Regions from separate parts of the Homo sapiens genome. Here region 1 is linked to region 2. Evidence: promoter capture Hi-C in human tissues and cell types (Jung and others, 2019). All regions are on one chromosome and are shown on one strand. The core of a region is centred on a gene start or on the middle of the fragment in contact, and the rest is flanking DNA. Distances in the headings are between cores, read along the strand shown.

What was found. The method cuts DNA at HindIII sites, captures the fragments that hold promoters and counts their contacts. A contact is called where the count stands out against the background at its distance.
Region 1: a contact is called between the fragment with the promoter of DRD4 here and a fragment that was not itself captured in region 2, in 4 of the 25 tissues and cell types used here (H1 embryonic stem cells, dorsolateral prefrontal cortex, mesenchymal stem cells and 1 more).

Annotation. Positions count from the first base shown.
Region 1 is chr11:633,386-639,171 of GRCh38, forward strand. DRD4 (dopamine receptor D4) reads left to right here and starts at 3,884. Exons shown (of 4, transcript NM_000797.4): 1 at 3,884-4,204. The coding sequence starts at 3,920. RefSeq lists enhancers at 2,166-2,701, 2,702-3,235, 3,771-4,304, 4,305-4,839, 4,840-5,373 and 1 more. The HindIII fragment of the contact is 8,949 bases long and covers 1-3,951 here.
Region 2 is chr11:757,405-763,213 of GRCh38, forward strand. It overlaps TALDO1 (transaldolase 1), which reads left to right. Exons shown (of 8, transcript NM_006755.2): 3 at 1,546-1,653; 4 at 2,718-2,849. Among named protein-coding and RNA genes, the nearest start is that of TALDO1, 13 kb to the left of the region's middle. RefSeq lists an enhancer at 5,184-5,809. The HindIII fragment of the contact is 7,127 bases long and covers 391-5,809 here.

The DNA of each region.
Region 1 (5,786 bases), core at 2,634-5,133, 120 kb before region 2:
GCATGGTGGCACGTGCCTGTAGTCCCAGCTGTTCAGGAGGCTGAGGCAGGAGAATAGCGTGAACCCGGGAGGCAGAGGTTGTGGTGAGCCGAGATCACACCACTGCACTCCAGCCTGGGTGACAGAGTGAGACTCCATCTCAAAAAAAAAAAAAAAATGCTGCTTTTCTGGCAGGCAGCACTTTAAAAGGGACTGTGTTTGCTCATATTTTTTCGAGAACTTTTGCATCTATATTCATAAAGGATACTCATTTGGAATTTTCTTTTTGTGATATCATTACTGTTGAGTTTTGAGAATTATTAATCTTTTTTGTATACAAGCCATTTGCTGGATATATGATTGCTAATTTTTAAAAAAAATTTGTTTCTTTTTTAATTTTAATTTATTATTTATTTATTTATTTATTTATTTATTTATTTATTTTGAGACGGAGTCTCGCTCTGTCGCCCACGCTGGAGTGCAGTGGTGCGATCTTGGCTCACTGCAAGCTCTGCCTCCCGGGTTCACGCCATTCCCTTGCCTCAGCCTCCCGAGTAGCTGGGACTACAGGTGCCCGCCACCACGCCTGGCTAATTTTTTGTATTTTTAGTAGAGACAGGGTTTCACTGTGTTAGCCAGGATGGTCTCGATTTCCTGACTTCGTGATCTGCCTGCCTCGGCCTCCCAAAGTGCTGGGATTACAGGCATGAGCCACCTCGCCCAGCCTATTTATTTATTTTTTGACACAGAGTCTTGCTCTGTTTCCCAGGCCAGAGTGCAATGACGTGATCTCCGCTCACCGCAACCTCTGCCTCCTGGGTTCAAGTGATTCTCCTTCCTCAGCCTGCCAAGCAGCTGGGATTACAGGTGCACACCACCACGCCCGGCTTTTTTTTTTTGAGACGGAGTCTTGCTCTGTCACCCAGGCTGGAGCGCAGTGGCACAATCTTGGCTCACTGCAATCTCCGCCTCCCGGGTTCATGCCATTCTCCTGCCTCAGCCTCCTCAGTAGCTGGGATTACAGGTGCCCGCCACCACGCCCGGCTGATTTTTTTGTATTTTTTAGTAGAGACAGGGTTTCACCGTGTTAGCCAGGATGGTCTCGATCTCCTGACCCTGTGATCTGCCTGCCTCGGCCTCCCAAAGTGCTGGGATTACAGGCGTGAGTCACCACGCCTGGCCAATTATTTGTATTTTTAGTAGAGATGGGGTTTCACTATGTTGGCCAGGCTGGTCTTGAACTCCTGACCTGGTGATCCACCTGCCTCGGCCTCCCAACGTGCTGGGATTACAGGTGTGAGCCACTGCGCCTGGCGTAGACAACCCAATTTTTAACAAAAGCAAAGATTTTTAACAGGCACATTCCAGAAGAGGGCATGCTGACAGTTAACAGGCACATGGGAAAAGTGGTCAAACATGAGTAGCCATCAGGAAAATCAACGACGTCCTACTACACTAAAATGGAAGAAACATTGCCAGACGTGGCCATTTGCAAATGTCGTTTCCTGGTCTGTGTCTTTTGATTCTCCTGACAGCATATTTGAGTTAATTTTTTAATGTGTAAGGTATGAGTGGAGGTCCTCATTAAAAATTGTTTAGGCTGGCTGTATGGCTCATGCCTGTAATCACAGCACTTTGAGAGGCTGAAGTGGGAGGATCATTTGAGCCCAGGAGTTTGAGACCGGCTGGGCTAACATGGCGAGACCCCGTCTCTACAAAAAATAAGAAAATTAGCTGGGTGTGGCACCACGCATCTGTAGTCTCAGTTGTACAGGAGGCTGAGGCCAGAGGATCACTTGAGCCCAGGAGATTGAGGCTGCAGTGAGCCATGATTGCAGTAAGATGTGATCACATCCAGTTACATTTGATTTTCAGATAAACAACAGAAGTTTAGTGGAGGCTGGGGGCAGTGGCTCACAGCTGTAATCCCAGCACTTTAGGAAGCTGAGGCAGGTGGATCACCTGAGGTCAGGAGTTCGAGACCAGCCTGGCCAATATGATGAAACCGTGTCTCTACTAAAAATACAAAAAAATTAGCCGGGCGTGGTGGCGGGCGCCTATAATCCCAGCTACTCAGAAGGCTGAGGCAGGAGAATCGCTTGAACCCGGGAGACGGAGGTTGCAGTGAGCCAAGATTGTGCTGCTGCACTCCAGCCTGGGTGATAAGAGTGAAACTCCATCTCAAAAAAAAAAAAAAAAAAAAAACAAATTGGGGTTGTCTGTCTTTTCTCATTGTTTCCATTGTTTCTGGATCTGTGTGTCAGAGATGTGTGCTGCACACATCCTTTCTCCGCCTAGCTTGGTTTTCACTCTTGGTGGTCGCAGACATCTTGGGGGCTACTTGAAGGAACTCTAAGCCGACCAGAGGCTGGGCTGGACTCGCCGTTTGGCGCCCAGCCGGAGACCCCAGGGCCACCCTCCCCGGTTCCATCCTGGGAGAGAAGAAACTTCCACTGTCCCAGTCTCTCCTGTGGTGACTTCTTTTGCTCAAGGGTTCACAAGGGCAGCAGACTGATCTGCACAAGAGGGACTGAGCCTGGCTGCGGCCGCACCTGATGCCTGTGCACACCTGTCCCTGGTGGTCTCTCCTGTGGTGACTTCTTTTGCTCAAGGGTTCACAAGGGCAGCAGACTGATCTGCACAAGAGGGACTGAGCCTGGCTGCGGCCGCACCTGATGCCTGTGCACACCTGTCCCTGGTGCAGGCCCTTCCCCCGCAGCCCCGTGACCTTGTCCTGTGAGGCTCACGGTGCCTGCTCCTTCTCAGAGTCCTCATTTCTCCCTTTAACGCACGCCCTGTCAGCGCCTCCGTCTAGCCCGTGTCCTCCAGACCTTCGAGGTCAGGGGCCTCAATTCCTGGCACAGCCCCTCCACTCCAGGCCTCCCAGAAACAGACTAGAGCATCAGGATGTGCGCCGCCTGGGGTCCCACAGAGTGGTGCCCCCTTTTAGTGTCTTCTAGGCCCCTTAGTGACAGACTACAGAAAATACCTCTCAGGTCACAGGTCACCCCTCTTTGGTGAAGAGTCCATAGAATTCTCTGCTGCGCTTTGCAAGCACTTTCTCTTCTGCACGTTTGGAACCTACCCCGGCCTGTCGTGTCTTTCTCCTGGCCTCCTCGCGAGCCGAACCTACTGTCCGGTCCCGGGACCCCCTGCCCAGGGTCAGAGGGGCGCCTACCTAGCTCACGGTCTTGGGCCGGAGGGAATGGAGGAGGGAGCGGGGTCGACCGCTCAGCTGTCCGCCCAGTTTCGGAGGCGGCCACGCGAGGATCAACTGTGCAACGGGTGGGGCCGCGGCTGACCGTGGTGGTCGCGGGGGCTGAGGGCCAGAGGCTGCGGGGGGGGGGCGGCGGGATGAGCTAGGCGTCGGCGGTTGAGTCGGGCGCGGAGTCGGGGGCAGGGGGAGCGGGCGTGGAGGGTGCGCACGAGGTCGAGGCGAGTCCGCGGGGGAGGCGGGCAGAGCCTGAGCTCAGGTCTTTCTGCGTCTGGCGGAACGGGCCTGGGAGGGAGGTTTTGCCAGATACCAGGTGGACTAGGGTGAGCGCCCGAGGGCCGGGACGCACGCACGGGCCGGGTAGGATGGCGCTGGCGTCGATGCCCGCGCGCTTCAGGGCCTGGTCTGGCCGCCCCTCCATCCTTGTCGGTTTCTCGGGTCGCGGACCCCGCGCGGCGCCGGGCGATGCTGGCCTGCCCGTGGCCACCACCTCGCTTCATTCCCGTCTCTTTGGGCCGCCGCATTCGTCCACGTGCCCGTCTCTCCCTGCGCAAAATTCCAAGATGAGCAAATACTGGGCTCACGGTGGAGCGCCGCGGGGGCCCCCCTGAGCCGGGGCGGGTCGGGGGCGGGACCAGGGTCCGGCCGGGGCGTGCCCGAGGGGAGGGACTCCCCGGCTTGCGACCCGGCGTTGTCCGCGGTGCTCAGCGCCCGCCCGGGCGCGCCATGGGGAACCGCAGCACCGCGGACGCGGACGGGCTGCTGGCTGGGCGCGGGCCGGCCGCGGGGGCATCTGCGGGGGCATCTGCGGGGCTGGCTGGGCAGGGCGCGGCGGCGCTGGTGGGGGGCGTGCTGCTCATCGGCGCGGTGCTCGCGGGGAACTCGCTCGTGTGCGTGAGCGTGGCCACCGAGCGCGCCCTGCAGACGCCCACCAACTCCTTCATCGTGAGCCTGGCGGCCGCCGACCTCCTCCTCGCTCTCCTGGTGCTGCCGCTCTTCGTCTACTCCGAGGTGAGCCGCGTCCGGCCGCACGAGCATCCTCACCTGCTCCTCGGTTCCCCGTCCCTGTCCCTACGGAGGACCCGGCGCGACCCGGCCCCTTTCTGGTGCGGAGCTTCCAGCTGGGGCGGCGGCAGGGGCGCTGCGCCTTGTCCCTCGGCGATACACCCACCGCCGCCACCTCGCGACCTTCCACCCGCTGCGCTGTCTGTCCCCCGACCCTCGTTCCTCTTCTCCTTCCCCGTCTGTCTTGGCGTCTGTTATCCAGGAGATGCCCGTCCTTCTATCCAGGGACCCCGGAAACAGGCGACTTTGTCAAGCCCAGTCCCCTCCGTAGCTGGATTTCACCTCCAGGGCAGCCAGCTGGACAGACAGGCAGATGCAGGCTCAGCCCCCTGGCTGCCGTGGGACACACACACACACACACTGCCACAGCCACTGCCCACCACACACACCTAGTGCAGATGCTGGCACACCCCCAGAAGGAGGCTCACAGCTCGCAGGGGAGACCTGGGCTGGACAAAACCCAGGGGAGGGGAGGGTGTGTGGGGACCAGGCCCCTGCTGAGAACCCTGGGGGGAAGCCTGAGGGGGAATTGGGGGATGGAGCCCACACTCCACACCAGGTCTGGCCCTCGAGTGGGTCGGCCTTGGTGCCAGCCCCTCTGCGGCCAGAGAAAAGCAGCTTAGGGCTGAGCTGGAGACGCGGTGTCCCCGACTGTGGGGGAGGGGGACTCGAGGTTTCCCCTTGATGGACACAGTGAATCCAGGCGGCTGGGGCAGAGACCAGCAGCACGGGACACGCGTGACCTGTGCTCCTTTCGAGCCGCAGACGTCACAGTGACGACGTTTAAGCTCCTAATCTCCCCAAATCGGCGGGAAGGATTAGAGGGGCTGCCTGCTCCTTTGCCCTTGGAGAGAGTCACTCCACGTGGAGTCCTACGCTGGGCACTGGGCACGGTCTTCATATTTTTAATTATAATTTATCTTCAAGACAATTATGATGTGGATACTATCATCACCCTTGTCTTACAGATGAAGAAACAGAAATGAATTAACGTGCCCGAGTCTCCCACAGAGAACTTAGCCAACAGAGCAGCCAGCTTCGCTTCTAGGCCCAGCGGGGACCCTGCCTACCCCAGGCTGGGGAGGGGCTCCCTTTGAGCCCGATGATATCAGGCCCGCCCCCAGGGAATTCCCCAGGCCGTTCTCATGTTTGTAACAAAAGGGAGACCAAGGCCAGAAGCCGTGATTCACGCCTGTAATCCCAGGACTTTGGGAGGCAAAGGCAGGAGGATAGTTTGAGACCAGCCTGGGAAACATACCAGGCCTGGTCTCTACAAAAAATTTTAAAATATCAGCCGGGGGTGGTGGCTGCGGCTGTTGTCCCAGCTATTCGGGGGAGCTGAGGCGGCAGAATCGCTTAAACCTGGGAGGCGGAGGTTGCAGTGAGTTGAGATCTCACCACTGCACTCCAGCCTGGGCAACAAGAGCGAAACTCCGTCTCAAAAAACAAAAAGAAAAACAAATCAGCCGGGGGTGGTGGCGCGCGGCTGTAATCCCAGCTACTCTGGAGACTGAGGTGGGAGGATCGC
Region 2 (5,809 bases), core at 2,704-5,203:
ACCTCAGCCTCCCAAGTAGCTGGGACTACAGGTGCACGCCACCACACCTGGCTAATATTTGTATTTGTTTTTAGAGGCAGGGTTTCACCATGTTGCCCTAGCTGGTTTCGAACTCCTGAGCTTGAGCAGTCTGCCCACCTTGGCCTGCCAGGGTGCTGTGATTACAGGCGTGAGCCACTGCACCCAGTCTGGCCCAAGAATTCTAACCTCTGAGCGTCTAGCTGAAGATCTTCCTGTGTGTAGTGGGCTAACAAGGCTGCTCAGATTTTGGAACAGAATCATGGACTTCACTGGGTGTCTGTCCAATAACTTTGAAGAGATAGAAAATATAATATTTTGCAAGTGCCAAAAGATAGAGGGATGCAGTTTGGGATGATGAAAAGAGCTCTGGAGATGGATGGTGATGGTTGTACAGAACTGTGAATGTGCTGAATACATTTTAAAATGGTGGGCTGGGGGCAGTGGTGCACGCCTGTAACCCCAGTGCTTTGGTAGGCCAAGATGGGAGGATCCCTTCAGCCTAAGAGTTCGAGAACAGTCTAGGCAATAGGGCAAAACTCTGTCTCTACAAAAAAATATAAAAATTAGCTGGGCATGGGCCAGGCGTGGTGGCTCACGCCTGTAATCCCAGCACTTTGAGAGGCCAAGACAGGCGGATCACGAGGTCAGGAGATCGAGACCATCCTGGCTAACACGGTGAAACCCCGTCTCCACCAAAAATACAAAAAAATTAGCCGGGCACAGTGGCGGGCGCCTGTAGTCCCAGCTACTCAGGAGGTTGAGGCAGGAGAATGGCGTGAACCGCGGGGGGCAGAGCTGGCAGAGCCGAGATTGTGCCACTGCACTCCAGCCTGGGCGACAGAGTGACACTCCATCTCAACAAAACAAAAAAATTAGCCAGGTATAGAGGTGTGCAGCTGTAGTCCCAGCTACTTGGGAGGCTGAGGCAGGAGGATCACTTGAGCCCGGGAGGTCAAGGCTGTAATGAGCCATAATCACACTACTGTGCTTCCAGCCTTAGCTGGAGACCCTGTCTTGGGGGAAAAAAAAAAGGATAAGATGGGAAATTTTATGTTATATGTATTATTTGGCCACAATAAAAAAATGTTTTAAGAGAAAAAAAAAGATGGAGGGAAGGAAATTTGGCAAAGAAATAACAGAATTTATTTTGTAGAGTCTTGTGCACTTGAACCTCAGAAGCTTCTTTTTTTTTTTCTTGAGATGGAGTCTCGCTCTGTCGCTCAGGCTGGAGTGCAGTGGCACGATCTCTGCTCACTGCAAGCTCCACCTCCCAGGTTCACGTCATTCTCCTGCCTCAGCCTCCCTAGTAACTAGGACTACAGGCACCCGCCACCATGCCCAGCTAATTTTTTAATATTTTTAGTGGAGACGGGGTTTCACCGTGTTAGCCAGGATGGTCTTGATCTCCTGACCTCATGATCCGCCCACCTCGGCCTCCCAAAGTGCTGGGATTACAGGCGTGAGCCACCGCACCTGGCGAACCTCAGAAGCTTCTAACCTGCTTTTTTTCCCTTTGAATTTCAGGTCACAAGAGGACCAGATTAAAAATGCTATTGATAAACTTTTTGTGTTGTTTGGAGCAGAAATACTAAAGAAGATTCCGGGCCGAGTATCCACAGAAGTAGACGCAAGGTAAGGATGCTTGCTCCTGCACTGGATGGGCTGGTCAGGTGTCCACAGTTGCACACGTGGATGCCAACATGAGGTCAAGGGGCTGCTCCACCCATGGTCTTCATCCCAAGGGCCCAAGAGGAGGTTTATTTTGAGCTCTCCCACAGTTGGTAGTGATGACCAAGAGCTCCTTGTTTAGCAACTGATCTCTAGTGTTTTTTATTTTTATTTTTATTTATTTTTGAGATGGAGTCTCGCACTGTCACCCAGGCTGGAGTACAGTGGCGCAATCTCAGCTCACTGCAACCTCTGTCTCCCGGCTTGAAGCGTTTCTCTGCCTCAGCCTCCCAAGTAGCTGAGATTACAGGCACCTGCCACCATGCCCAGCTAATTTGTTGTATTTTTAATAGAGATGGGGTTTGACCATTTTGGCCAGGCTGGTCTTGAACTCCTGACGTCATGATCCACCTGCCTCGGCCTCCCAAAGTGCTGGGATCACAGGCATGAGCCACTGTGCCCGGCTGCTAGTGTTTTTTGTTTTGATTTGTTTTGTTTGTTTTTTGAGACAGAGTCTCGCTCTGTTGCCAGTGTAGAGTGCAGTGGTGTGATCTCAGCTCACTGCAACCTTCACCTCCCGGGTTCAAGCGATTCTCCTGCCTCAGCCTCCCAAGTAGCTGGGACTACAGACACCCGCCACCATACCCAGCTAATTTTTTTGTATTTTTAGTAGCGACAGGGTTTCACCATGTTGGCCAGGATGGTCTCGATCCCTTGACCTTGTGATCTTCCCGCCTCAGCCTCCCAAAGTGTTGGGATTACAGGCGTGAGCCACGGCACCTGGCCCAGTGTTTTTTAATACAAATTATAGCCTATGGATCCCACTGAGGACCTCTGTTTGTGAGACTGGGTGTGAGTTGCTGTCAGAGCCATTCTGCAAACCTCCAGTGAGGGGAAGGTTGAGGGCAGTGGTTGGTGCTCACGGTGGTGCTGCTCAAAACTGACAGGCAGACACCCGGCCTCCAGCTTGCTCTGCGTGGTGGGCAACCTGCGTGATCTGAGGGGATGGGTTCTTCTTGCTCCTACAGGCTCTCCTTTGATAAAGATGCGATGGTGGCCAGAGCCAGGCGGCTCATCGAGCTCTACAAGGAAGCTGGGATCAGCAAGGACCGAATTCTTATAAAGCTGTCATCAACCTGGGAAGGAATTCAGGCTGGAAAGTAAGTGGTCCCCCACAAGGAAGGAGCTCTCAGAGATTTTTCCTCTGTTGGAGCAGGGTCTACATGGCATCAGGCAAGTTTGACTCTCTCAGCCCTGGGGAATGCCAGACTGGGGAGCACAGCCCACAGCTTGGACTTGACCAGCTCATGTCAGCCTAGATCTGCCCTCTGCTCCAGAGCCAGCTCCCTCACTTGCTGGTGATCAGAAATGAGGGATTTCCCAGGAAGTACCATCCACCCACTCAGCAGAGAAGAAAAGCCACTAGTTAGCACCTGCAGATTCAGATTCTGTCCTTCCTCTGTCCTGATCAACACAAGCCTATGTTTACATGATTTTTAAAAAGTAAACTATTGTTATATAAAATATATGCTGGCTGGGCAAGATGGCTCATGCCTGTAATCCCAGCAATTTGGGAGGCTGAGATGGGAGGATCACTTGAGCCCAGGAGTTCCAGACCAGCCTGGGCAACAAAGTGAAACCTTGTCTCTACAAAAATATAAAGAAATTTTAGGCTGGGCACGGTGGCTCCCAGCACTTTGGGAGGCCGAGGCGTGGGGATCACGAGGTCAGGAGATCGAGACCATCCTGGCTAACACGGTGAAACCCCGACTCCACTAAAAAATATAAAAAATTAGCCGGGCATGGTGGCACACACCTGTAGTCCCATTTAGGAGGCTGAGGCAGGAGAATTGCTTGAACCCAGGAGGCGAAGGTTGCAGTTAGCTGAGATCACACCACTGCACTCCAGTCTGGGTGACAGAGCAAGACTCTGTCTCAAAAAGAAAAGAAAACTTTTAGGCCGGGCACGGTGGCTCATACCTGTAATCCTAGCACTCTGGAAGCCTGAGGTGGGTAGATCACCTGAGGTCAGGAGTTCGAGACCAGGCTGGCCAAGATAGTGGAACCCCGTCTCTACCAAAACTACAAAAAATTTAGCTGGGCGTGGTGGCAGGTGCCTGTAATCCTAGCTACATGGGAGGCTGAAGCAGGAGAATCACTTCAACCTGGGAGGTGGACGTTGCAGTGAGCCGAGATTGCACCATTGTACTCCAGCCTGGGTGACAGAATGAGACTCCATCTCAAAAAAAAAAAAAAAAAAGAAAAGAAAAACTAGCCCACCCCTGTGATTCCAGCTACTTAGGAGGCTGAGGCGGGAGGATCGCTTGAGCCTGGGAAGTTGAGGTTCCAGTAGCTATGATCGTACCACTGCACTCCAGCCTGGGTGACAGAGTGAGACCCTGTCTCAGAAAAACCAAACCAAACATATGTACGTTCAGAGTGGAAGAGACAGAAAATGTATAAAACAAAGTAAAACTCCTCTATGATGTTCTCACCCAGAAGCAGCCAATGCTATACTCAAATAATTCGCATCAGGAAGAGGTGTTTTGTTTCCACATCTGTGTGTCTGCATGTTCTACCACCTGCCATCACTGACCTGCTCTGAGATAGCATCTCACTTTTTCACCACGGCTGGAGTGCAGTGGCACGAACTTGGCTCACTGCAGCCTTGACTCCAGGCTCAAGCTATCTTTCCACCTCAGTCCCCCAAGTGGCTGGGATGACAAGCACACATACCACTCCTGGGTAATTTCACCACGTTCCCCAGGCTGGTCTCGAACCCCTGGGCTCAAGAGATCTCTACCCATCTTGGCCTCCCAAAGTGCTGGGATTATAGGCATGAGCCATTGTGCCTGGCCTCATTTGTGTGTTTTTTTGTTTTTTTTTGTTTTTGAGACGGAGTTTCATTCTCGTCCATGCTGGAGTGCAATGGTGCTATCTCAGCTCACTGCAACCTCCACCTCTGGGGTTCAAGAGATTCTCCTGCCTCAGCCTCCGGAGTAGCTGGGATTACAGGCAGGCGCCACCACTCCCGCCTAATTTTATATTTTTAGTAGAGATGGGGTTTCTCATGTTAGTCAGGCTGATCTCAAACTCCCAGCCTCAGGTGATCCGCCCGCCTCGGCCTCCCAAAGTGTTGGGATCACAGGTTTGAGCCACTGCACCTGGCCGGACCATTTGTTTTTATATGTTGGAAAATACTCCATTTTATGGATAGGCCACAGTTATTCATCTGTTGGTGGACACCTGGTCAGTTTCCATCTCTTGAGCTGTGATGTATATTGCTGTGGTCGGTTTCCATTTCTCGGGCTGTGATGTATGCTGCTGCTCTGAACACATCTGCTGCTATGAACACATCTGCTGCTCTGAACACAGATGTGCAAGTTTTGTCCTGGACATGTGTTTTTGTTTCTCGTGGGCATATGCCTAGGAGTGGAGTCTCTGGGTGACTGCTGGAGGAACTGCAGGCTGTTTCCCAACTCAGCTGTGCCATCTGCTGTCCCCCTCGAACACCCCCGTGTGGCCATGTGGCAGAGGCGCCTGGGGAGGGAACTTGTGTCTGAAGGTGCCTGAGCAGAGCCTTGGCTGTCTCATCCCATGCCCCAGCCACATGGCAAAGTATGGGCACTGCTCCGTCCTTGGGGATCAACCCCAGGATGTCCAAAGTGCACTGGGATTTGGGCAAGTGGCCTAGTGAGGCCAAGGGGCTCCTCTCAGCAGAAACCAGGGTGCTACGGGCCTGCTGCAGGGTGGCCCCAGGAATGGGTAGGGTGGAACAGGGTGAGGACTGGAATGTGGTCAGAGATGACTCAGTGGTTCTAGCCTGGGAGCTGAGCCCTGGTGAGTTCTGGGATGAGGTGACGGCCTGGCGCAAGAGCACGGGCACCCAGAGGGCCTCCCTTGCCTTTGTCTATTGTGTCATGTGGGTTGGAGAAAATCCTGGTCACCCATAACCCACTATCCACTTAGAGCCCTCGAGTCTTACCGATTTGTTCTTAACAATGGCATGAGCCTGTTCCTGCCTTTTTAGTTTAAGGCCCGTGAGCGTCTTTGGCAGCCTGTGGCTCTGGGTGGGCACCTGGCCTGCATTCACCTGCCCCGCCCTCACCTGCCCCGCCCT